4 separate regions of the Homo sapiens genome follow, and all the other regions are linked to region 1. Evidence: promoter capture Hi-C in 16 types of primary human blood cells and fetal thymus (Javierre and others, 2016). All regions are on one chromosome and are shown on one strand. Each heading gives the region's core, a stretch centred on a gene start or on the middle of the fragment in contact. The rest is flanking DNA. Distances are from core to core; before and after follow the strand shown.

What was found. Contacts are between HindIII fragments. The CHiCAGO score rates a contact against its expected background, and 5 or more counts as called.
Region 2: the fragment with the promoter of SLC19A1 here is called in contact with the fragment with the promoter of PCBP3-AS1 in region 1 in 16 of 17 cell types (naive CD4 T cells, fetal thymus, naive CD8 T cells and 13 more); the score reaches 25.7 in naive CD4 T cells.
Region 3: a contact is called between a fragment that was not itself captured here and the fragment with the promoter of PCBP3-AS1 in region 1, in 1 of 17 cell types (naive CD4 T cells). The highest score is 5.6, in naive CD4 T cells.
Region 4: a fragment that was not itself captured here is called in contact with the fragment with the promoter of PCBP3-AS1 in region 1 in 3 of 17 cell types (naive CD4 T cells, naive CD8 T cells and total CD8 T cells); the score reaches 6.3 in naive CD4 T cells.

The regions. Positions count from the first base shown.
Region 1 is chr21:45,832,204-45,838,949 of GRCh38, reverse strand. PCBP3-AS1 (PCBP3 antisense RNA 1) reads left to right here and starts at 2,531. Exons shown (of 3, transcript NR_038876.1): 1 at 2,531-2,664; 2 at 6,292-6,342. The region is part of intron 4 of PCBP3 (poly(rC) binding protein 3); the gene reads right to left. RefSeq lists enhancers at 1,304-1,847, 2,918-3,425 and a silencer at 5,948-6,148. The HindIII fragment of the contact is 12,994 bases long and covers 1-6,746 here.
Region 2 is chr21:45,536,996-45,543,707 of GRCh38, reverse strand. It overlaps SLC19A1 (solute carrier family 19 member 1), which reads left to right and starts at 1,268. Exons shown (of 6, transcript NM_194255.4): 1 at 1,268-1,340; 2 at 5,700-5,937. The coding sequence starts at 5,749. RefSeq lists silencers at 995-1,074, 1,115-1,424, 1,775-1,834 and an enhancer at 628-1,140. The HindIII fragment of the contact is 3,738 bases long and covers 1-1,998 here.
Region 3 is chr21:45,557,342-45,562,401 of GRCh38, reverse strand. It overlaps a transcript of SLC19A1 not described here. Among named protein-coding and RNA genes, the nearest start is that of SLC19A1, 17 kb to the right of the region's middle. RefSeq lists an enhancer at 1,348-2,057. The HindIII fragment of the contact is 9,158 bases long and covers 1-5,060 here.
Region 4 is chr21:45,457,108-45,461,207 of GRCh38, reverse strand. The region is part of intron 2 of COL18A1 (collagen type XVIII alpha 1 chain); the gene reads right to left. Among named protein-coding and RNA genes, the nearest start is that of MIR6815, 19 kb to the left of the region's middle. The HindIII fragment of the contact is 1,665 bases long and covers 418-2,082 here.

The sequences.
Region 1 (6,746 bases), core at 1,282-3,781:
AGGAAAGTGAGACTTTTGTGAATAGCCCTTGCAATAATTTTGACTTTAGAATCATGTAAATGTTTGTATTTTACATAATCAAATGCAGGAATTTCAGTTGAAGCTATAACCACAGAGAGAAGGACTGTAGGCACTGACCTTAAAACACAGGAATCTGACTGCATATCCTCAAGGGAATATATTATACAGACAGAAAAAAGTGCAAAGAAATATATTGCTCTAAATTTAGTCATTAATCATAATATTGGTATTATTCTCCAAACCTGTTATATATTTACTTAGGCTAAAACAAATAAGTAATCATGGTAATGATGAGAGAAAAGAAAAACTAGTATAAGTTTTAAATTTTTAAGTTAAAATAATGTAATCTTAAATATGATTTAAAAATATTTATCTTAATTTTCTCTTCTTTTAAAATTACAAACATTTCTTATTTCTGTTCACTAAATTATAAAAAATCAATGACAACCCAATTGCAATAAGCACTCCTAATACTCACGCTGTGGTCTCTAAATACTACTTCCCAAATAGTATTATTATTATTATTATTAGAACAAAAACAGGTCTCCCAAAAGAGTTTGATTCCAGGTGGTCTGTGGAAGAAAATATAAAAGGTAAGGTGGGAACACATACGACAGAAGGCAATAAAGCCATCCAAGACTGATGTGGTTACATCAGAAAGCGAGGGGAGCCCAAAAACTACAGAACAGTTTGAGTAAAGAAATGGCAGCTGCACTGGCCAAACTCCACTGTGTGTATAACATCCACCAGTTAACAATGATGCTTCACAGGGAGAGAAAAGCAGGGAAAGACACAAATTCACAGGACAACACTGGGGCTTCCAGAAACCAACTCATCGCAGTGAGAACAACTGAGTGCAAAGAATGAAGCATCTATCCTGCCTTTCTGGCATGAACCATAGTTTAGGTAACCAAACAGCCCTAGTGGATGAGGCAAACGTTATTCCACATAGATGAATCCCAACTAATAAGTACAGAAAGAACAACACAATTAGAAAATCACCGTTCTGCAGCCCCTAATGTGTACTGCATCCAGGCAATGACCATCAATGAATATTGACAGCAAGCTGCAAGGCTGGTGGGGAACCCAGCAGTGGCGGATCAGGCTGACCCCCTAAGCTCAATCCTCAGTCTCAGCACCAGTGAAGGAGCGGCCAGACCACACGCCTCATCATGCCATGCGGTGCAACGTGCAGTGCCACCTAGGAAGCTCGCTCGCCTCACAGGAAAAATAAATCTGAGTGGAATCGCACCTCAGACCTACCAGGGCAAATATGGGGTTGCAGGTGGGCTCTGCACCATGCCAGAGGAGGCAGCCAGCCAAATCCAGAACGCAGGCATTCCACACAGCCGCTACCCCCAAGAGGCAGACAACCCAGGGCTACAGGTAGGCCTTCGACATGAAACCGCCCGCAGGAGAATTTCCACAGGCACGTAGCCATGCCCTATAACCTGAAGCTAGGGCGCCGTGGCCTGTTCTCACAGCGCCATCCCTAGGCTCCAAGAGCCAGCATCCTGGGAGCTCTGCAGCGCTGTGCTGCTGCCTGTGGCTTGCACACAGATGTCACATAACATCATTTCCGCTGGAGGCACATGCCTGCCCAGATTAAAGGGAGGGTCACGATCCCCTCCCTGGCGGGAGGTGCATCAAAGTCACAGCACAAGAGCATGTGGAACGGGAGATACAGACCACAGTGAAACGTTATTTACATTCACTGCATTGGCAAACATTCAGAATGTTGGTGGACTGTAGATCATCCGTGGCGCTAACACGCTGCTGGGGGATGGGAATTGGTACCCGCGCTTTGAAACAAAAACTGACATGGTCCTGAAAGTTCCTGAAAGTTCACCTTTCACAGACTTTATGATGCAGCAATTCCACTTCCTTAAACCAAAAACACCTCATGTGTGCACCAAAAGAAACACACAGGAATGTCCACGGAAGCATCACTCACAATGGCAAGCGAGCCGCATGACCCTGCTGGAAAAACAAATAAATGATGCCTATTCACACACTGGAACACTATGCAGCCAGGCACACAAACTGCAGCTCTGCCCAGAAACACATACCAACCTAAGACACCTTGTGTGTGACTAAACAGAACAGGTTTGGGAAGTCTATGTAGGGACTGATGTCACTTTCTAAGAGTTCAGAAACAAGCAATCATGTGTAATAAAATAAAATTATTTTAAAGAGAAGAGATGAGAAAACAAAATGCAGGATCACGGTAAAGAAGAGGAAGCACCCACGGCAGCATGGGTCATCTCGCTTAGCCTGGTCCTGGGGTCACGGCTGTTCATGAGAAAGCTATGCTCCGCAGCTCACGTTACGTACGTGTCATATGCTAATTCTCATGTCACAACATTTTAACGAATATACTGGGAAGTGCAGCCAAGTACTGCAAGCAGAGGAGCCGGCACACGTGATCCCAGACCAGGCAGCACTTACAAAGGATGGCAGGAAGGCCAAGACGTTGTCACGGAGATGAGGCCCAGCAGGGCAGGAAGGCATGACCAGCAGGCCTGGCTACAGGCAGCAAGCACCAAACCCCATTCCAGATGCCAGGAAAGGCACACACAGGCCTGGCGCAGGTGGGCTGTCTTCTGGCCGCTCCCTGGGTGGACTGGTCTTGGAGACTGGACGGTAAGGACTGGGGAGAGTCAGGGTCCACTTTGGAGGCAGAATTGGGAGGGTTTGAATCAGATGAGTAAGGAGGTACCAGGAAGGGGTCCAAGGTTCCTTCTGTTTGTATCCCCCACAGGTCTGCTGACATCGGCCCCCAGAGAGGGGCAACCCACGGCCAGGAAAGCAGACCAGGCAGCCCCTCTGTAAGGCTGAAGGAGGAGCTACTGTGGGTGGCCTGGACTCCTTGTCATCTCGGGCCCCACGTTGCCCCTCTGGTGATCAAGGACTCACAAACTTCTTGCTCATATTCTGAAAGATGGGCAGCTTTTTGTTTGGTGAGGTTACCATGCCTGCGGCCACAGCTTCCCCTGTGGAACTGAGATCCAGACCCCGCCAGGCCTGGGGCCTGTTCCCCTGGGGCTGCCGTGACACTGGCTTTCTGCGCTCTCCTCTCCCCAGGGCATAAGGCCCAGACCTCCTGCGGGTCAAGCTCAAGACCCTGGGCCCAGGGTCTGCCTGTCCCTGGCCCAAGCTGGCAGGTGTGGCCTGGATGAAAATGGCTCAGGAGAAGCTGATCTGCTATGCAGCCTAGTCTGCCAGAGCCAGGGTCCAGGCCCATGGGCAGCTCACAGGGATGTGGGGCCACGCCCAGGCTCTGTCTTCCTCACGCAGGGGCCATGTGGCAGGACAGGCCCAGCACACCATGTGAGTGCCCAGAATGCTGAGGCATATTAGGTTTGAACCCTGGAACTGTGTTTCTGCCTCTCTGACCTCTCAGATGCACAGGGACTTGCAGAGGGGCTCCTTAAGGTGCTCCAGGTCAGTGCCGGCTGCGGCCAGGAGCTGACGGCCGGCAGGGAGGTGTAGAGACCCGGGGCCAGTGTTAAAGGTGCTACGGCCACTTGGCTTTGCTGTGACCCCCGTGCACAGGAGCACCAGACTCCTCTCTGCCAACAGGCCACAGAGCAGCTCCGGTGCTGCTAAGCCTCCGGAGTGGGGCGAGTCTTGTGCAGGAGGCTCCCAGGCAGGTCCCGGGGCATGAAGTTTAAACAGGCCCCACCCACACTCCTGGGAGCCTGTGTAGGCCCCGCCCCCGGGGCCCAGGGCAGACGTGGGCTATTCTCTGTCTTGGCTCCCCTCATCTGGCTCTCACCTCAGGAAAAGATGTACCTAACTCCTATGATTCCTACATCCTCATAAATGAACCCACAGGAACCTGTGGCTCTGTGAGTGGGGAGCAGCCCCCGTGTCAGCAGAGGCTGCTGCGGCGTTCGCGAACCGGCCTCCCAAGCTGCCCGCGTCATTCAGTGGCGCTGCCCACCCCGAGCACGGGTGGACACCGCGCAGAGTGACATTTCCAGCAGCGCTTTGAGGGACTCACGGTGCCTCCCCATTCCTGCTGCCGCAGGCCTCCCGAGCTGGGTTGTGCACTCAGCGCTCAGAAGTGGGCATTCCTGGGCTCTGCCGAAAAGCGTGCCAGGTGAACTCGGAACTCACCTGCTGCTCTCCTCTAGAGGCAGCTCCGAAGTCTGCTTTGTCCTTTTAAAAACCTTTCATACCACCTCCCTCGTGGGCCCCCTCTGAGAGACGCCTCTGATTTTTCAGTGGTGCTTCCTTTGGAGTCTATTGGCCTACTTCCATCTGCACGCCATCTCACAGGTGCTGCTGCCTCTGAGGCGCTGGGCTGCACCCTCACAGTGCAGCACTCGTGGACGTGGTGGCCTGGGGAGAGCAGGGCTGTGGCCGTCTTCTGTTGTGAGGCCAGCACGAGGACCTCTTTGGCGGGCACGGGGACAAGCTATGCTGGGCAGTGGCGAGGAGGCAGCTGGCCCCTCCCAAAGCACAAGCTGCATGGGGACGCCACCCCTAGACAGTCACAGCACATGCTGTGCCTTGGAAATGGACATCCTAGCTAATCACAAATTTCGGTCAGCCTCTAGGAAAGCATTTAGTCATTCATTCACAACTTCCAGTCCCTGCTCTAACACGCGCCCTGGTCGGAGGGCGCTCTGACGGCTGGTGACAGGACACGACACTGCCAGGAAAAGAAGCTGCCAGCCGGGCTCCAGGCACTGTGCGGCATCTTCCTGAGAGGCCTGCTTGGCCTGGCCTTGCTTGGAGTCTGGGCCCTTGACAACTTCCACGTAGACCCAGACTCCTGGGCCCCGTGGACTCGTGAATCGGTGGCAGTCTCAGCCTGTGGGGGTGCTGGCCAGCCCAGCTCCTCCCTTCCCTACCCAGGACATGTCCTGGCTCAGCCCCCAGCCTTCCCTGTGCTTGGCTTTCCTTCTGGTGACCAGATAACATCCACGCCATCCTCAGAGGTGGTGACAAGCACAGGTGAGTCAATCGCCAACATGGTCCAAATTTGTTTCCAACATTTAAAAAAACAGAAGATTTCATATTCAAATATGATTTTATGACTTTAAAAGGGAGTCAGGTGTTCCCTGAGCTCCTGCCCAGGCAGGCAGGACTGCAAGCTCCTCCCAGCAAGGTGGTCCCTCCGTGACCCTGCCCTGCATGGGGCCACAGCAGCCACCTGTGGTCTGCCCAGAAACAGACAATCCTTCCAGAGCTCTTAGCCCCTTAGGCCTGGCCTCTGCCACTGGCACTGGCCACTCACATTCATGGGCGCATACACTAGGCCTGGGCACCATCCAGTCGTGCTCAGGGGGGTGGCCCGTGTCTGGAATCCTGGTGAAGCAGAAACACCCTCTGTCCTGAGAAGCCCTTCTCCCCTCCTCCACCCACTCTCCTGACATGGGCAGCACCTCGGCAGTTGGCTGGAACCAGACAGTCTTTGTGAATAAGCTGCCAGGGGCCAACGTGGGAAAGTTCTGAGCCTGGCATGCACAAGTAGCATGCTGGATTTTTTAGGTTCTAAGGTTGTGCTGTTGTGAGGCCTGGGAAGCAACCCTCAGCTTGGCATTGCCTTCTTTACAGAGATGCCTGGGGGGCCACAGGCTTTCTCTCAGCTTTCCATCTGATGGCATTAAGTAACCCGCAAGCAAAGTCCAAAACTGTGAACATAAAAATGCTACATATTGATGAATGAAAGCCCTACTGCCCCACAGTTACTATGTAACATAGTTATTTAATAACCGCGAGGTGGGGGTATCTCCTGCCTGCCCATGGCCTGAGGCCGTGTCTCCGTCTGCTGGATGGGGGTGCCCACTCCTTCCCTTGGGTGTGCCCACAGCTGCCCACAGAGAGCCTCGCTGGCTGCTGATATGGTTTGGCTGTGTCTCCACCCAAATCTCATCTTGAATTGTAATTCCCACAATCCCCACGTGTTGAGGGACCTGGCGGGAGGTGATTGGATCATGGGGGCAGTTTCCACCATACCGTTCTCATGATAGCGAGTTCTCACGAGATCTGATGGTTTTGTCTGGCAAGTTCCTCCTTCGCCCACACTTCTCTCTCCTGCCGCCTTGTGAAGAAGGTGCTTGCTTCCCCTTTGGCTTCTGTCATGATTCTAAGTTTCCTGAGGCCTCCCCAGCCATGTGGAACTATGAGTCAATTAAACCTCTTTCCTTTATAAATTACCCAATCTTGGGTATGTCTTTATAGCAGTGTGAAAACGAACTAATACAGCTGCATTTGTTAAGCTCCATCTGCCAAATTTGTTTCTTCTCTTGCTCCCAGGAGTGCTCAATGTCAGGAGGAAGCCACGACTCACTCACTGGAGAACACGAGGTCAGCACGGGGCCACGGGGGTGGGACTTATTGTCAACATGATGTAGGTGTGGGGTCCCGGGGTGGCTGCACAGCTGAGAATGGTCAATTTCCCAAAGCTGAAGTTCTGACACTCAGAGGCGTTTGGCAGAGTGACTACATCTTGAGTAAGGGCTGGGTAAAATAAGGCTGAGACCTGTTGGGCTGCATTCCCAGATGGTTAAGCATTCTAAGTCTTGGGATGAGATAGGAGGTCAGCACAAGATACAGGGTCATAAAGACCCTGCTGATAAAACAGGTTGCAGTAAAAAAGTTGGCCAAACCCCACCAAAACTAAGATGGAGATGAGCGTGACCTCTGGTCGTCCTCACTGCTACACTCTCACCAGCACCATAACAGTTTACAAATGCCATGGCAACATCAGG
Region 2 (6,712 bases), core at 19-2,518, 290 kb after region 1:
ACAAATCCTTTTTAAGTTCCTTTGAGATTTGTTCGTGTGGCTTGCTACACTCAGGACTCTGGAAAGAAGGCCCAGGCCAGAGCTTTGGGCAGGCGGCCATTTAGGGCAAGGGCCCTGTGTTGGCTTCCTGGTGGGGTTGCCCTGCTGGTGGGCGGGAGACCAAGAGCACCCCCGCAACACCAGGAGGCAGGTCGCGGATTGTGCTGTCTACACTCCGGAAGGGGTACATTCCAGGGGCTGCTGCCCCAGACTCACCCCTCGCCTGGGACCCGCACTCTTGAGCTGTGGGTACCACGGTGGCCGTCCCCTTCTGTTCTGTGCAGTGGACTTCCTGGCTCCTCCTTAGCCTTGGGGCCCCCACAGCCCTCGGCTTGGCTTCCCTCCCCATAGCCAGGCCCTGGGTAACTCCAGGGGAAAGTGACCCTGAGGCCCCCCACTTCTCCCCGTGTCCTGCACAGGCCTTGGGCTTTCGGCGGTGCTGTCTGCCGCAGCCCCACGCCTTCCTGGGAGAGTGGCCCAGGCCCCCCTTCCTGAGTGTGACTGCGCTGCCGTCTGCGAGGCCTGCGCGGGTCTCCCCCGGGCTGTCCCTGCTGGGATGGGGACTGGTGGCCCCGGGCCACGTCCTGGATCCGGCTTGCTCCTTGGTACAAGCCCGTACGGGTCACGGTCAGGCAGGAGGGCGGGCGGCGGGGTCCCGGGGGCGCCGAGTTCGGGGCCGTGCGGTCCCCAAGAGCAGGCTGTGCGTGTCCCTGTTGGAGCCCCACGAAGGCGGCCCAGGGCCACCCCTGAGGGCGCGTGGGCCCGACCCGCGTCCCGGATCCAGCTTGCGGCCAGGAATGCAGGTGTTCCAGGGTGCCAAAAGGAAAACGCACAAGGCCTCGTCGAGGAGGGGGGGTCAGGAGGGGACCGGGGGTGGGAAGAACGCGGGGGAGAGGGATGGCAGGGTGCCCGCCCGAGGGACCGACACCTCCGCGAGTGGCACCCCAGGATGCTGACGCCGGCGGGGGTGGGGGCCCGAGGGGCGGTCGGGGTCAGGGGGCGGCCCCAGGGGTAGGGCCGCAGCACGAGGGGCCGCGTGACCCCGGCGGTGACCGGGTGGGGAGAGGCCGGCGCCGGGGCTGGGAGACGGCCGTGGGTGGGAGGGTGCCCCGTGGGGACGCTCCTGCCGCAGCGCCCGGCCACGCGCGAGGCCCCGCCCTCAGGACGCGTTCGGCGGGACGGACCCGCCCACCCCGCAGCCGCGCGCCCGCCGCGCCGCCTTGTGGGCGCTGTAGTCCCGGAGTCCGCGTGCGCGGGGCCGGGTCCGGGAGCCCCAGGGCAGCCGCCCCGCCGAGTCGCAGGTACCGGTGGGGAACGGGGCCACGGGGCCGCGTGTCGGGGGCTGCGGGGTGTCTCGGGGCCCTGGGGTGAGTGCGGGGCGCGGGCCGAGGTTTGCAGGGCCCTGTGAGGTGAGTGTGGGGGCTGGCGCTGGGGTCCGCGGGGCCCTGGGGAGGGTGCGGGGCGTGGGCCGGGGTCTGCGGTCTGCAGCCTGGGGTCCGCGGGGCCCTGGGGAGGGTGCGGGGCGTGGGCCGGGGTCTGCGGTCTGCAGCCTGGGGTCTGGGGGGCCCTGGGGAGGGTGCGGGGCGTGGCCGGGGTCTGCGGTCTGCAGCCTGGGGTCTGGGGGGCCCTGGGGAGGGTGCGGGGCGTGGGCCGGGGTCTCCGCGGGGGTCGCGGTGGCCCGGGCGCCTGGCAGAACCGTTGCTGTGCAGCGGGTTTCCCGCCGCTCGCTTTCCGCCGCAGCCTGCGAATGGGGTGGGGAGTCCCGGCCCCCAGCCTGCCCTCCGCGTCATCCTGGGGCGCCAAGTCCCACCCCCGGGTCTGGAGGAAAGCGTGGATCCGGCGTTCGCGCCCAGGCACGTGTTGCTTCGGGACGGGCCAGCCGGTGGGTGAACCCTGCCAGCCACGCGTGGGGCGGGCCCCTGGCACATCTCCAGACCATTGTCTCCTGTGCCAGAAGCTTTGTAGGTGCAACTTCCCCTTGGAGCAGCTGTGGGTGCGGATCCAGCGGAGCAATCCCGAGGCGTCTCAGAGAGAGCCTGGACAGCCGCTGGAGCCTTTCCCGAGTGGGTCCTTCCAACACCGCTACAGCAGGAAAGCCATCCCCCTAGGGTCCTGTCCATCGGAAACTCCTGTCCTGGGGAGTCTGGCCTGCCTGGCCTCAGGACACAGGCCAACTAAGCTGGCCCCGAAATCCAGAATGCATCCAGAGGGAAGGTGGGATAAAGTCCTTGGAGGCGCCTGTTGGCCGCCCTGTAAAGAGGTGGCCTCCCCCTACGGAGACCCGAGGATCCCCGCACAGCCCAGATTCAATCAGCAGAGCCGAGGTGCCTCTGGCCCAGTGCACCTGCCTGCCCTGTCCAGGCCTGGGAGCCAGGCTGCATCTCACTGGCCGCCTTTGCCTGGGTGCCACCTGTGCACTGCTTGTTGCAATTGCTAATTGCTTTCTTTCCGAAGGGGCTTTGGTGGATTTTTATAATTCCAGATAGTACAGTTATCTCTGCTGGACACAGATGAGAAAGAGTGCTTCTCGGGTGTTTGGGCCTGCAGCAGTGATAGCCGGAGGGTCTAATTATGCTGTTAGGAACCCTGAACTTGGTCATCTGAACAGGGGTGGGAGGGTGTGCAATGCTTTCTTCTTCTTCTTTTTAAACTAGCAGGCGTTCTAAAAAACATAACGAACATTCTTGGTTAGCCTTCCAGAGTAGGAGCTGGTTTAAACACGGAATGATAGGTGGCGTTTGCTTGTGTTTTGATTGCGGGTCTCTGGCCTTCTCTGGTGCTTGGAAGGACAGGGCCTGGGTGGGGCTGGTCACTGTGGACAGTGGGGCCGGGGATTTGCAGGGGCTGTTACAACCTTCTCCTGAAGGCAGGGATTCTCTCTGCTTCCCCGTGGCCCTCCTGTCTGGTCGGGGACTTCCTTCAGATGCCGGGAAGAGGCCTCAAGCTGTATGGGACTGGGCTGGGGTCTGGACACTTGGAGTCTAGGCGTCCCCTGGCTTGGGGCTGCGTTTCTATGATGGTGACCAAGTTCCCTATCTTTCCTCTTGGAGGTGGTCTGGGCCGTGATGGCCAAGCCTCTGTCAGTGGGCTACGTTCACGGCACATAAGTTGAGTATGCTGGCAGCAGAGGCTGACTGTTAAGACCAGCAGCAGCCCCTTGCTGGCGGAGACTCTGGCTGTCTCTCCAAGGAAGGAATGTTCTGGTCGCTTCTGGAGGTGGCACCTTTCAGAACAGGGGGCCCAAGTACCCAGGGCTCCCGGGCCCCTGGGGGTCCTGTGGGTGGGGATCTGACTCCTGCGGCCATGGACTGTGGGCGCAGACCCTGGGCTTAGTTCAGCTCCTGATGGCTCCCCGTTGTCTGCGGCGATCTGGTTGCTCTGGTTGTCTGGGGATCGGTGCGCCTGTCTAAACCTGCTGACAGGTGGGAAAGTGAACTTGACAGGGAGTCCCAGGGCCAAATGGGTCTCCCAGTGGGGAGGAGTGGGTGCGGTCTGAGGTATGTCCAGCTCTACCCGTGGCCTCTCTGGGCATCAGGGTCCCTGGTGATGGAGCCCAACCTTTGTGCACTGATCTTCCCAGCTGTTGACAGGCCCTGAGGAGGCATGGAAGGTGAGGCCGAGGCAGGCGACCGTCAGATCTGCCTCGGCCTGGCAGTGGCCCCTGCCTGCGCTTCCTCCTGCCTGGCCGGCTGTTTTCATCCTGGCCCTTTGAGAACTTCTAGGGTCCTGGCTGCCTCCAATGGAGGGTGCTGGTCCCATCTTCTTCCCAGCTGTGCCCTGCCGTGGAGCTCCGGAAACCTCGAGGTTCCCCTAACCCTTCCCCCTCTTCCCTGCGGCCCCCATTGCAAGCCCACCAGCCTCTGCCTCTTAAGGGCTTCCCTGCCATCACCTATGTTCCTTTGTCACAGACATGAGTGTGTAGAGGTGTCAAGACGGGACCCCAGATGATGCTGATGGCTTTGCCTAAGTGGCCTGGGGAGGGTCTCTCTCTCTGGTCCCTGAAGGCCACCTTTTTCCTAAGCCTGTGTGTCAGGTTGGGGGCGGTTCAGGGAGCACTTCCAGCCTGAGTGGTCTCTGATACGTGAAGACTGAATGCTGAGAGCCTGGGGCAGATTTTCCTAGGGGTCCCTGGACCCCCAAAGCTGGCCCCACATCGAGGGATGCTCTGAGCCCCTGCTGGAGGGTTGGAGGAGACTTCTCAAATCCAGACCCTCTGCAGACCCCCTGCCACCCTCCCAAGCCGGCCCTGTGGCGAGGCACAATTGTCCAACTGTCAGCCCAGTGCAGATGGGACGGCGACCCCGCCCCACAAGGCTGCTCAGCTGCCCTCTGCATGCGCTGCATCCCCACCCCACCTGAGCAGCAGATGGCCTTTCCACGTGCACTCTGCCAGGCCTGGCCTCCGGGAGCAGAGGTCAGCTGATACAGACGTGAGGTGCACCTGTGGGGGACCAGGGCCAGGTCCTGGCCTCACGGGGTTGGCTTGGTGTGGGCGTCTGACACACTTGTTTATGGCAGTTCACTTTTGACTTACTTGAAGGAGAACTTTACACCGAGGCCTTAATGGAAAACCAGGGCCACGTGGCACCTGGAGACATGATTCTGATAAGTGGACAGGCTTTTGCCCCGCAGCTGAAAGGCACGATTTGTGGTGGTGAGACGTGCCCTTGCCCGCACCGGAGGAGCCTTTCTCCTGGGCAGAATCAGGACTGAAAGAGACACGCCCTCGAGTGTGCTTCGTGCTGCTGCTGCTCCACCACGTGCCCTGGCCGTGTGGGGCGGGGGTGCTGGCGGGATGGTCCCCAAGGTTGGGTGCATGTTGCCTCGTGGATGAAGTCCTGTGGTCTGGGGTGCTCCATCTGGAACGTGTCAGGTCCACTCATGGCTCCTGCCAGCTGCTTTCGTCTAGGGTAACCTGCCGCCGGGGATGCTGGGGTCCCTGGGCTCAGGGGCTGGGCCTCGGCTCCATCCCATCCTCCCTCCCACGCGTGTTTCAACCCTGGCTGCTCTCAGCCCCCTCAAGGACACCTGCTTTTCCCTCTGCCCTTCCCTCACTGTGGGCTTGGCCTGCACGCCCTCCTGCCAGGGCACGCGGCTGATGGGGACCTGAGGCTGGTACCTGCAGCCACCCGCCGCTGGCCACCTGTGGTGTGACCCCGGCCTCCAGCAGCGTCCGTTCCTGCCTGTGCCCTCCCTGGGCCACCTGGGTGCCGCTAGAGCAGCAGCAGGCACGTGGGCTGCCCTCAGGCCTGTGGGGTGAGGTGTGCCCCCTGACCGCCACAGGTACTGCCCAGCAGTGCCATGAGTCTAGTGTGGCCCCAAACCCTAAATTTTGTTAGTTTAGTTAATAAAGTAAGTCAATTAGTTAATTAACTTGGTTTTGATTGGCACTTAAATCACTCCATGTGGCTGGAGACTTCCCTCAGCCTCGGAGACCCTGGAGGTGGTGACAGCCTGGCCTGGGGGACTCCGGAGCAGCTCAGGTGTGGGTGGCTCCCAGTTTGGTGCTACGGGGTGAGGATGGGTCTGGGGTCTGCATTCGTCTCCAGGGTGGCGTTTGGTCCTGAGTGGCGAGGAGGCCGGCACTGGGCCTCGTTTTGCGGGGTAGGGAGGCCTGCAGACCATCTTCCAAGGTGCCCTGACTCCACCCCTCCTTCCAGGCACAGCGTCACCTTCGTCCCCTCCGGAGCTGCACGTGGCCTGAGCAGGATGGTGCCCTCCAGCCCAGCGGTGGAGAAGCAGGTGCCCGTGGAACCTGGGCCTGACCCCGAGCTCCGGTCCTGGCGGCACCTCGTGTGCTACCTTTGCTTCTACGGCTTCATGGCGCAGATACGGCCAGGGGAGAGCTTCATCACCCCCTACCTCCTGGGGCCCGACAAGAACTTCACGCGGGAGCAGGCATGTGGGTGCCGGGGTGCCGGGCGGCCGCCTGTGGGTGGGTGGGCGGGGAGCAGCGTCTGGAATAGGCACGTGGGCGCCGGGATGCGGGGGCGGCCGCCAGTGGGTGGGCAGGGAGCAGCTTCTGGAATAGGCACGTGGGCGCTGGGTGCCAGGGCGGCTGCCTGTGGGTGGGCGGGGAGCAGCTTCTGGAATAGGCACGTGGGTGCCGGGGTGCCGGGCGGCCGCCTGTGGGTGGGCGGGGAGCAGCTTCTGGAATAGGCATGTGGGCACCGGGGTGCTGGGCGGCCGCCTGTGGGTGGGCGGGGAGCAGCTTCTGGAATAGGCACGTGGGTGCTGGGTGCCAGGGCGGCCGCCTATGGGTGGGCGGGGAGCAGCTTCAGGGGCCAGGGCGCTTTTCCTGTTGGATGTGTGAGCACTTGAGGCTGGAGCGGGTGAGTGGCCGTGTCAGCTGATAATATGGTCCTGGAGGGAACCCGGCTGGGGTCTCACACTCCCAGCAGCGGGCACCATCAGATGGAGGGGCCTGGCTTCGGCCTAGTAACCAGGCTAGATAAAAAGTGATATTGTGTCCTGCAGAGAGAGAGCCTGCCCCACCCCACCCGCCAGGCCGTGCTCATCGGCCCTCCTGGTGAGGAAGCCCACGTCCAACCCTGCTGGGCACCTGCCTTCCACAGAGACTTAGTGGCTATTTACCTAAAGAGATTATTGAAGGAATTTTCATTTTACTCAGCCATGAGGACAAAGGGTCTTATTGAAACTGTTCTAATAGGCT
Region 3 (5,060 bases), core at 110-2,609, 280 kb after region 1:
CAGAACTGGCCTTTTGAAAAACTTCCCAGAGACAGTCACAAATGTTCCGTAGTCACTGGGGCTTCCCTTTACGATGCCGATGTGGTGAATGCGTGTGGTGTCGTGTCAGTGTGATGCACCTGTGTGGTGAGTGTTGTCTGTGTATCATTTTCCACAAACATAGATTTTGGTTCATGCCTGAGCTCTCTGACTGATAACTGTCTTAAGATTAAAAGGAAACCCTTTGGAGTTAGTGTGCATTTCTGGATTTGTCTTTTTTTTTTTTTTTTTTTGAGACAGAGTCTTGATCTGTTGCCAGACTGGAGTGCAATGGCGCGATCTCAGCTCACTACAAACTCCGCCTCCTGGGTTCAAGTGATTCTCCTGCCTCAGCCTCCTGAATAGCTGGGATTACAGGCGCCCGCCACCATGCCCAGCTAATTTTTGTATTTTTAGTAGAGACAGGGTTTCACCATGTTGGCCAGGATTGTCTTGATCTCCTAACCTTGTGGTCTGCCCGCCTTGGCCTCTCAAAGTGTTGGGATTACAGGCGTGAGCCACTGCACCCAGCCTGGAAGTCTTATCTTTCTTTGCTGTGCAGGTTCCCACCTTCACTTTTTATTTAATTTTTTAATTATTTATTATTTATTTATTTATTTTTTGAGATGGAGTCTCGCTGTGTCCCCAAGGCTGGAGTGCAGTGTCATGATCTTGGCTCACTACAACCTCCGCCTCCTGGGTTCAAGCAATTCTCTTGTCTCAAACTCCCAAATAGCTGGGACTACAGGTGCATGCCACCACACTTGGGTAATTTTTGTATTTTTAGTAGAGACAGGGTTTCACCATGTTGACCAGGCTGGTCTCGAACTCCTAACCTCAGGTGATCTGCCCACCTCAGCCTCCCAATGTGCTGGGATTACAGGCATGAGCCACCGCGCCCGGCCTCACCCTCACTTCCAATGCAGAGTCCAGCACTTGCAGCTGGAACCCACCAGGCCAGGAGTGGGAACACCGGGAGACGCTCCGGGCCCCAGACCTACCATATTTAATCCTGGCTGCACAAACGCAACATGTTCTAACTTGAAAGAGGTTCATTTATTACAAGTGAATGGCATGGCAAGTTACTGCAATAGAATACTCAAATATTTATTTTATACTTGGTCAATTATTTCTAGCACATCTTTTAGGGTCATTGCTCGTTCCTGTTTTACTTTGGTTGTGCTTGTCTGAAGGCATTTGCCCCCAGCTGGGTGTTGTTCAGACCTCTTGCCTCTCTTGTCTTCTCAACAAGACTCGGTGACATTTGCTCTCTCCAAGTGCACGGCAGCAGAAAATACTGTGGTTCGCAAGGCAGGGAAAGTGGATTAGGCTTGGTCGTTTATTCTCGTTCTTTCCTTCTTCCTTTGCACATGGGTGGCTGGGAAGCAGCTTCGTTTCTAAGGGCAGGGAATGACCACAGCAGTTGTAAGAGCAGCAGCTGAGGCTGAGCCAGGCCATGAGCATTCCCTCCGCCAGCCGTGAGAGCGCCTCTTTATCATGGAGAAAGCAGCATCAGAGAGGCCAGCTCAGAGGACAGCGCCGATTCTCCGGGGCTCGGGCCTCCCTCAGCTCCAAGCCTGGGTGCTGCTCTTCTTGTTTGTCTGTTTGGCCTCAGCCCAGCATTGGGTTCGTCCTCCTCATTGGCACTTGGCCACTGTTGTCACCACTCCGCAAGGCACCTCACCTTTGTCATTCCTCTTCTTGGTCCTTCAAATCCTCATTCCCAACTCCAACCTCCGCTCCCCTGCCCCGCCGTGTGCGGCCGTCCTTGCTGGTGTTGTCTCTTCCCTCCTGTTCTGGAGGAGTGTGTGTCTCTTTGTTTGGACTCTGATTTCGCTTCCTACCATGGTGCCAGTGCCACATCCCATTCCCACATGGCGTCTCCAAGACCCCTCCCTGCTGCGTGGTGGATTAGCTCCTGTGGGCGCCACCGTGGGCACCCTAGCGGGGGTGCCAGTGCCACATCCCATTCCCACATAGCGTCTCCAAGACCCCTCCCTGCTGCATGGTGGATTAGCTCCTGTGGGGGCCATAGTGGGCACCCAGTGCGCTTTGCCTGACCCTCCCAAGGTGATGGACATGGAGTGTCCCGCTCCTGCTGGCCTCATTGAGCCGTGGGCACGTCCCTGTGTGGGCCCTGTGTGGCTGTGGGAGGAGTCCTTGGGGGGTGGATCCTGGAGAGGACTTTGCCGGGCCCTGGCGTCCCCACCTCTCAGGGCCAGGCCGCTCCCCAGGAAGGCTGCACGGTTTATGCTCCATGAGTGACCCCAGGGCTCCCCTATGCCCACGTTCTAGCCACACCTGGCACGAGCCAGTTTCCTACATTTTGGGAGCTGGGGGGTGTGACGTGCTGCCTTCTGCAGAGTAAGCTGCATTTCCGACGTTTTGGCCCCTGCTGGTGGTCTGTTCACATGCGGATCCTGTCTCTGGGGCTGTGGCCGATTGCCTGAGGTTCAGCTGTGCCCACTGCCCATGTGGAGGGCTGTCTGCCCCCATCATCATCAGAAATGGATGTCACAGTAAAAATAAATCTGCTTGTCACACTGGGGGCCATTTTGACAGCAAACTCCATGTCTAGCAATTTCTCTTAAAAATACCCTGTGTGAGGGAATGATGCGCATTTGAATGACTAGTTCTTCACTGCTGTTAATAAGGAACACGGAAGCTCTGCGTGTGCTGATGTGGAACCACCTCCGAGCCAGTAAGTGAGAAAACTCGCGCACAGGTGTGGCCCCACGTCCAGAGGTCCATCCGCACGCCCCGGGCTCCAGGTTTGGCCGGATGCTCCCTGGACAGAGCTGCAAATCAGAATCCACAGGTACCTGCAGGGGCCTCAATAAAATAAAGACTGAAAAACAACTGGAAAAAAATATAAATCTTAGCAAATCTTTGCAAGTTGGAGCTGGAAGACCTGGCCTTCCCGTGGTCTCCGGAGGATGCTGCCTACCGCTGGTCCCCATGGGGGACTCGCCCACACCCCTGGCCATTTTCAGTGTGTGTGTTTGTCTCCTTGTCGGTGCGTGGTGACACCTCACCGACCTAAATACACAGATGGGGGCAATTCCCTGATGGACCCAGGACACCGACACTCACCCGGCCTCAACGTTGCGATGTTTCCACACAGCTGAGGGGCTGGCAGTTCTTCATGGTGCTTTTTGACTTAAAGATGTTTTTAGGTTGGATGCAAGCACATCTACTCATCTTTTCCTTTGTGATTTCTGCCACTGACATTCCCAAATTTATGTAGTTATTGACTTCCACATGAAAATTCAATTTAGGCCAGGCACGGTGGCTCATGCCTGTAATCCCAGCACTTTGGATGGCTGAGGTGGATGGATCACGAGGTCAAGAGATCGAGACCATCCTGGCCAACATGGTGAAACCCCGTCTCTACTAAAAATACAAAAATTAGCTGGGCGTGGTGGTGTGCACCTGTAATCCCAGCTACTTGGGAGGCTGAGGCAGGAGAATCGCTTGAACCTGGGAGGCAGAGGTTGTAGTCAGCTGAGATTGCAGCATTGCACTCCAGCCTGGGGACCTAGCCAGACTCCACCTCAAAAAAAAAAAAAAGAAAAAAGAAAAAGAAAATTCAATTTAACTGAAATGTGTTTCCCTGTGTGCTGAGAAATTGGAACACAGCTCCACCTTGTTCCAAGCAACCAGGTGGCCGTACTCTGTCCTGCCCTGGCAACAAGGCTGCCCCGACTCCCTCAGATTCCCAGCCGCAGGGCTTCCTGTAGCAGCTCCGCTCCCTACCTGTGCCTGCCCTCGCTCAAACCAAACGCAGTCCTCTCACACATTTATTTCTGGGGCTGAACTCAAGTCACACTGGCCACATACGAAGAAGAAACACCCTCTGCAGCCTGGTCACAGCCCCACCTGCTGCATCCCTGGGAAGATCCCCAAGGCTCGCCGGCCAGCACCCCTTCTGCGGCACCACTGCCTTCCCGGGTTCTCAGGGGGTCTCACTGCAGTGACAATGGGGCGAATCCTTCAAAGATTGAAGGGCCCACTGGGGATTTCTCAGCAGCCAGAGCTGCAGGCCCACACCCTGGGGCCAGGCTGCAGAGCCAGCATGTCCGAGTCCCAGCTGAGGTCCAGCCAGCCGTGGCCCACCTGGACTTGGGGGGTCTCAGCCTGTCGTCTTGGATGGTGGGTGTCATGCACTTGTCTGGCCTGATCTGTCACCAGCCGTGTGGAGTCCGACTAGAGAGCCTTGGCCCCGAAGGGTTTTCAGAAGCCGCCTCCAGTCTCTCGTCAGCACGGGACGTGCTAACCACTGAGCCCAGGCTTGGAGACGATGCCGCCGCTGTCTGAATATGGAGCCACTCGGCACAGACTGCCTTGGATGGCATGACTCTAAAAATATCCCCAAATAGGTGGCCTCCTGGTCATGCCCTCCGAAGAATGGAGCTCATGTCTAAACAGGAATGATTCCGTCAGACACGCAGGAGGCAAAGGTGAGCATCACACTATCACTCCCCACGCCACTGGGCTCAGGAGGCCAAGTCCGAGTGCCGAGGGCACGGCCACCCCCACACCTGCTTCCCCTCCGCAACTGTCTGGGCTGCGTCTGTGCTGTTAGTTGAGCAGAGGGCTCAGCCTGAGCCGGGACAAGCTCCTCACTAGCATCCCCGAGAGTCACCAGAGCGCAGGACACGGTCCAAGAGAGGCACACTGTCTGAGTGTGGTGGAGGGTTGAGGCTCCCCGGGAGCCTCAGAGCATCCCTTCTGCTCAATTCAGGGCAGTGAGTGGCCTTGGTTTGGGCCCCTGCACCCTGGTCCTGGTCACTGCACAAACCCCCAGCCCTCGCTCCTCTGCTCTGGCCATGAACCACTGCAGGGCTGTGGCTGGAGCAGGACACTCCAGGCGGACACTCACATGCCAGCAGCCTCCGGGCCCAACCGTCTCTGTGACAGAGACTACCAGCAAGGTGTGCAGGACCCGGGGCTCAGGGCCAGGCTGGGGCCACAAGGCACAGGCCAGCACCTGGTTCACCCAGAGCAGACGAGAAGCCTCAGGAGAATGTGGCACGGGCTAC
Region 4 (4,100 bases), core at 1-2,500, 380 kb after region 1:
ATGTGACTGTTGGTCGAAGGGTACAAAGTTTCAGTTATGCAGGAAAAGTAAGTTCTAGAGGTCTAATGTACACATGGTGATTACAGCTAGAATACTGTATCGCATATGGCACTTCAAACTTGAGTAGATCTTAAGTTTTCTCACCACACTCACAACGGTAACTGGTTGAAGTGATAGATGTCCACTAGCTTGACCTTAGATATATACAAAAACCCAAATATACGTAAAAGGACCTGCAGGAAGCCCTGTTTGGAGTGCTGTGCTTTTCATTCTGTCTGTGCTTAGTTCAGAATCACACAAGATCTTGTACCCACAGACAACTGCACCCAATGCACTGGGCCCTTGACACTCCAGTAGGAGTTAAATGCTGAGTCACTCTTGGTGCATCTAAGAGGCATGGAGAATTTACGAGAAGCTTAGCCAGCATCATCGAAAAAATATTTGTAGGTTGCCAAGCGGTGAGAGATAAGCATGAGTTATTTCCCAGAGTGGTCTTCTCCCTTCTTAAACCAAAGTTACATGGAAACATCAAACAAATCAAAGCATTTTAAGGAGAAGGGACATTTTCTCAAATTCTGCATTTGACTAAAGGAGCAAGAGGTAAGCACCATATAAGGACACCTGTGTGCCAGTGGCTGGCCCATGGGGTAGGGAGGAGCGATGAAGGAGCAGCCCCTCGGGGCCATCATGGTGACATGACCTTCACGTGCACTCCCGTGGCCTCCCACTGACCTCCGAATGTCCAGTGATGGGGGTGGAGGCAGAGGAAGCCCCAGCCCAGGGGCCTGTGCACCACTTTCCAAGATCACGGGACTCGTGCATTTGAGATGAGCGACTTGGCCGGCGTGTGTGTGGACCTGCCTCCCGAGCACCCCGGTGGCAGCTGTGCCCAGTTGCGCCCCACTCTGTGCACAGGCACTATCCATCCCGGCACTGGTCCCTGCCCTCATCAGATGGCCTGCACCACGAGGGTGGATGCCTGCTGGTCTCCTGGTGCTCCCCGGCTGGGAGCTTGCTTGTCCTGCATCTGCTGCGATGCTGAAGAGCGCTCTGGGGCCAGGCTGCTGGGCCCTCCTCCAGGCTCCCTCCTTGCTAGCCACACTTGCGGCACGCACACGTGTCTGTCCTTCCTAGGCCTCAGTTTCTCACCTGTAAACGGGAACAATACGCAGCTCCCAGGTCAGAGGATGCTTGCCTGTAGGACTCCTTGGAAACATCACCTGCCTCCGGTCCCAGGGGCCAGGGTTTGTGAGAGCTCAGGAGGGGTGTAGAGAGCAAAGTCCAGAGGGCCAGGCACCCGTTGCTGTTGTGGGGTGACACTCCCACAGCCCTTGTGACCTGAGCTCCATGTGTCACTCACAGAGTCCCACTGAGACAGCCCAGGGGGCTTCCTGGAGGCAGTGTCCCGGGCAGCCCAAGCCCAAGCCCCGCTCGCTCACTCTTGGCAGCTGCAGCAAGGGAGCCTCCCTACCCCACCCCGGCCCTCCCGTGTGAGGGGGCCTCACTCCCTTCCTCGTGGACCTGAGGGACAAGCCCACAACACAGCAAAACCCTCCACAGGGTCCCTGCTTGTGTGCTGACCACAGGGTTCACCCTCCCTTTGAGCGCCCCCCACGCCCCAGCACGGCTGCACTGTCCCCCACACTCTCCTCGAGGTGGGCCGGCGGGGTGGACACACAGGGCAGTGCCCAGGACGAGGTGGAGGGGGCGCTGGAGATGGAGCCGGGCAGGAGGCAGCAGGACCCCTCCAGCTCCCCTCCCCTCAGGGGCACATACTCCCTGATCCCTGGAGATGCAGCCAGGGACCTCTGTGGGCCTCGAGGGCTCTGTTCTGGTGCCCGGATCACAGCCCAGCACCCCCACTTTCGGGGCCTCGAAGTCTGCCCGAGGGGTCAGGCTGGGCTCCCCCTCCTCCTCCTGCCCCTCACCCAGGGCTGGGAGTGTCCAGCCCAACATAGGGGTCCGGCAGGAGTTGGGGCTAACCCAAGAGGAGCCTGGGCTGGGGAGGAGCTGAGAGGCCAGAAGAGGGGGCAGGACCCTCCCGGCCAGGCCACACCTGGGAAGGGGCTCCTTGATAAAGCTTGAGGCCCACCCCTGGCCAGAGGCAATGCAGGCCAGGAACGCTGATGGAGTCCCCCAGGACCCTGCACGGGACACGGCCTCCCTCGCACGGGGACGCTACCAAGCTGTCCAGATGTTCAGTGAAAAGTCCCCATCAGGCTGTGCCACCGACCGGGCCAGCTGCAGTTGCAGAAATTCCTCGCCCTCACAGCCCCACTCGGACCCCAGCCCCCAAGCCATGCAGCTGTGCCCCAACTCCCAGGAGACCGGCACCTTCCCTGAGGCTGAAGCTTGCTCACAGTGCTCAGCTGATCCCAGACAGTCTCGGGCTGGCAGGGCTAGGGCAGGGTCAGGTGTGCAGGCCTGGCGTTTCCCCTCCCACAGGCTGCAGCCCTCCCAGCCCACCGCTGTCCTGTCTGCCTCCGTGGGCTTGCAGTGGAGGACAAGGTGGGCTGTGCTGGAGCCTCCCGGGGCTCCAGGACACCGGACCCGGGTCCCTCCAGTCAGTACGGCTCCTGCAAGGCTGCCCTACCCACATGCTTGGTGGGGAACAGTAGCCAGGTGGGGTGTGGCTCCGGGGGGGTTGCCTGCAAGGCGGCTGGTGCTTGCTGGGCATTTGGGTGTTCCAGGGACGGAGGATGAGTGGGACCCAGGAATCTGGCTGCTTGTGGCAGTGCCAGCTGCCCTGGGGGTGACATCTAAGCCCTGAGATGCCAACATTCGCGGGCACAGCCCCTGCCTCAGAGAGCTCCAGCCCTATGAGATGCCAACAGCCGTGGGCACGGCCCCTGCCTCAGAGAGCTCCAGCCCTACGAGATGCCAACAGCCGTGGGCACGGTCCCTGCCTGGGAGAGCTCCAGCCCTACGAGATGCCAACAGCCGCGGGCACGGCCCCTGCCTCGGAGAGCTCCAGCCCTATGCTTCTGGGGCGCATCCACAAGGGCCCCCACTCCTGCACACACCAGGCCCCCCCAGCGCAGTTCCTGTGCCCCCCTCAGGCTCAGCCAGGCCCCGCTGCAGCCCTCCCTCCCTCCCTCCCTCCCTGCCCCTCCATTCCAGCCCACGTGGGCTTTACTCCTGGGACCACCTGTTGTCAGCACTTGTCCCTGCCCTGTCTGTGGCCCCCCGGCCACTCCCCAGGCCCCACACAGGGTCTGCAGAGGCTCTGGGCTTTGCTGAGAGAAACGGTCACTGGCCTGAAACTCAAGGGGAATCACCAAGCTCGTCATCCCTCACGGAGCCTGGTGGGTGGGCGTCCACCAGAATTTCCACTGCAGGCACCCCCACCTCCAGGTCCGGCACAGCTGCTAACCCCCACCAACCCTGTCCCAAAGCCCAAAGAGCAAACAGCAAGGCTGCTTCCCCTCGGCACTATGGGGAGGACAGCAGAGGAGGACAGAGCACCTCACCCTGCGGGGATAGGGCCTCTGGGCCAAGGCTGCCAGGTGCACATAGCAAGCAGAATCTGAATGGGGCAGGCACAGCTCAGGGGCCCCGTCTACTCCCGGACACAGAGGAGGGATCTGCTGGGGTCCTTTCTGGGCTGCCCCTGCCCCCAGGAGGTTAAAGAGTCCCCCTTTCCCTCCTCTTCCTGCCCCCAACTGTCCAGCCAGCAACAAGGCCAGGCCACACGGTGATGGGGCAACGTCCCCTGGGCCCAGAAGCGGCCCCCACTGTGGCAGGGAGGCTGTGTGCTTCAGGATGGGGAGGGGGACATGAAAGGCTCCCTCTCAGGACGGGCCCTGCAGACCTCCCTGGTCCCCACGCTGGTAGGGTCTCTGCACTGCCCACGCGGCAGCACCCTTGGCCCGAGCACGCTGGGGCTCCCAGGAAGCGCATCGAACCGTGCAGCTTAGTGACCGGAGCAAGGTCGATGCAGCCACACCTGAGCGGGAATCTCGGCTCCCTGGGGTGAGTCACGCCACTGCCCCACGCCTCAGTTTCCCCTCTGTGACTCGGGGCATGGCAGGGTATCTCGGGACCGTGCTGAGGACTAAATGCGCTAAAATGCTCAGGGAGCTCCAGGCCCAGGTGGCACC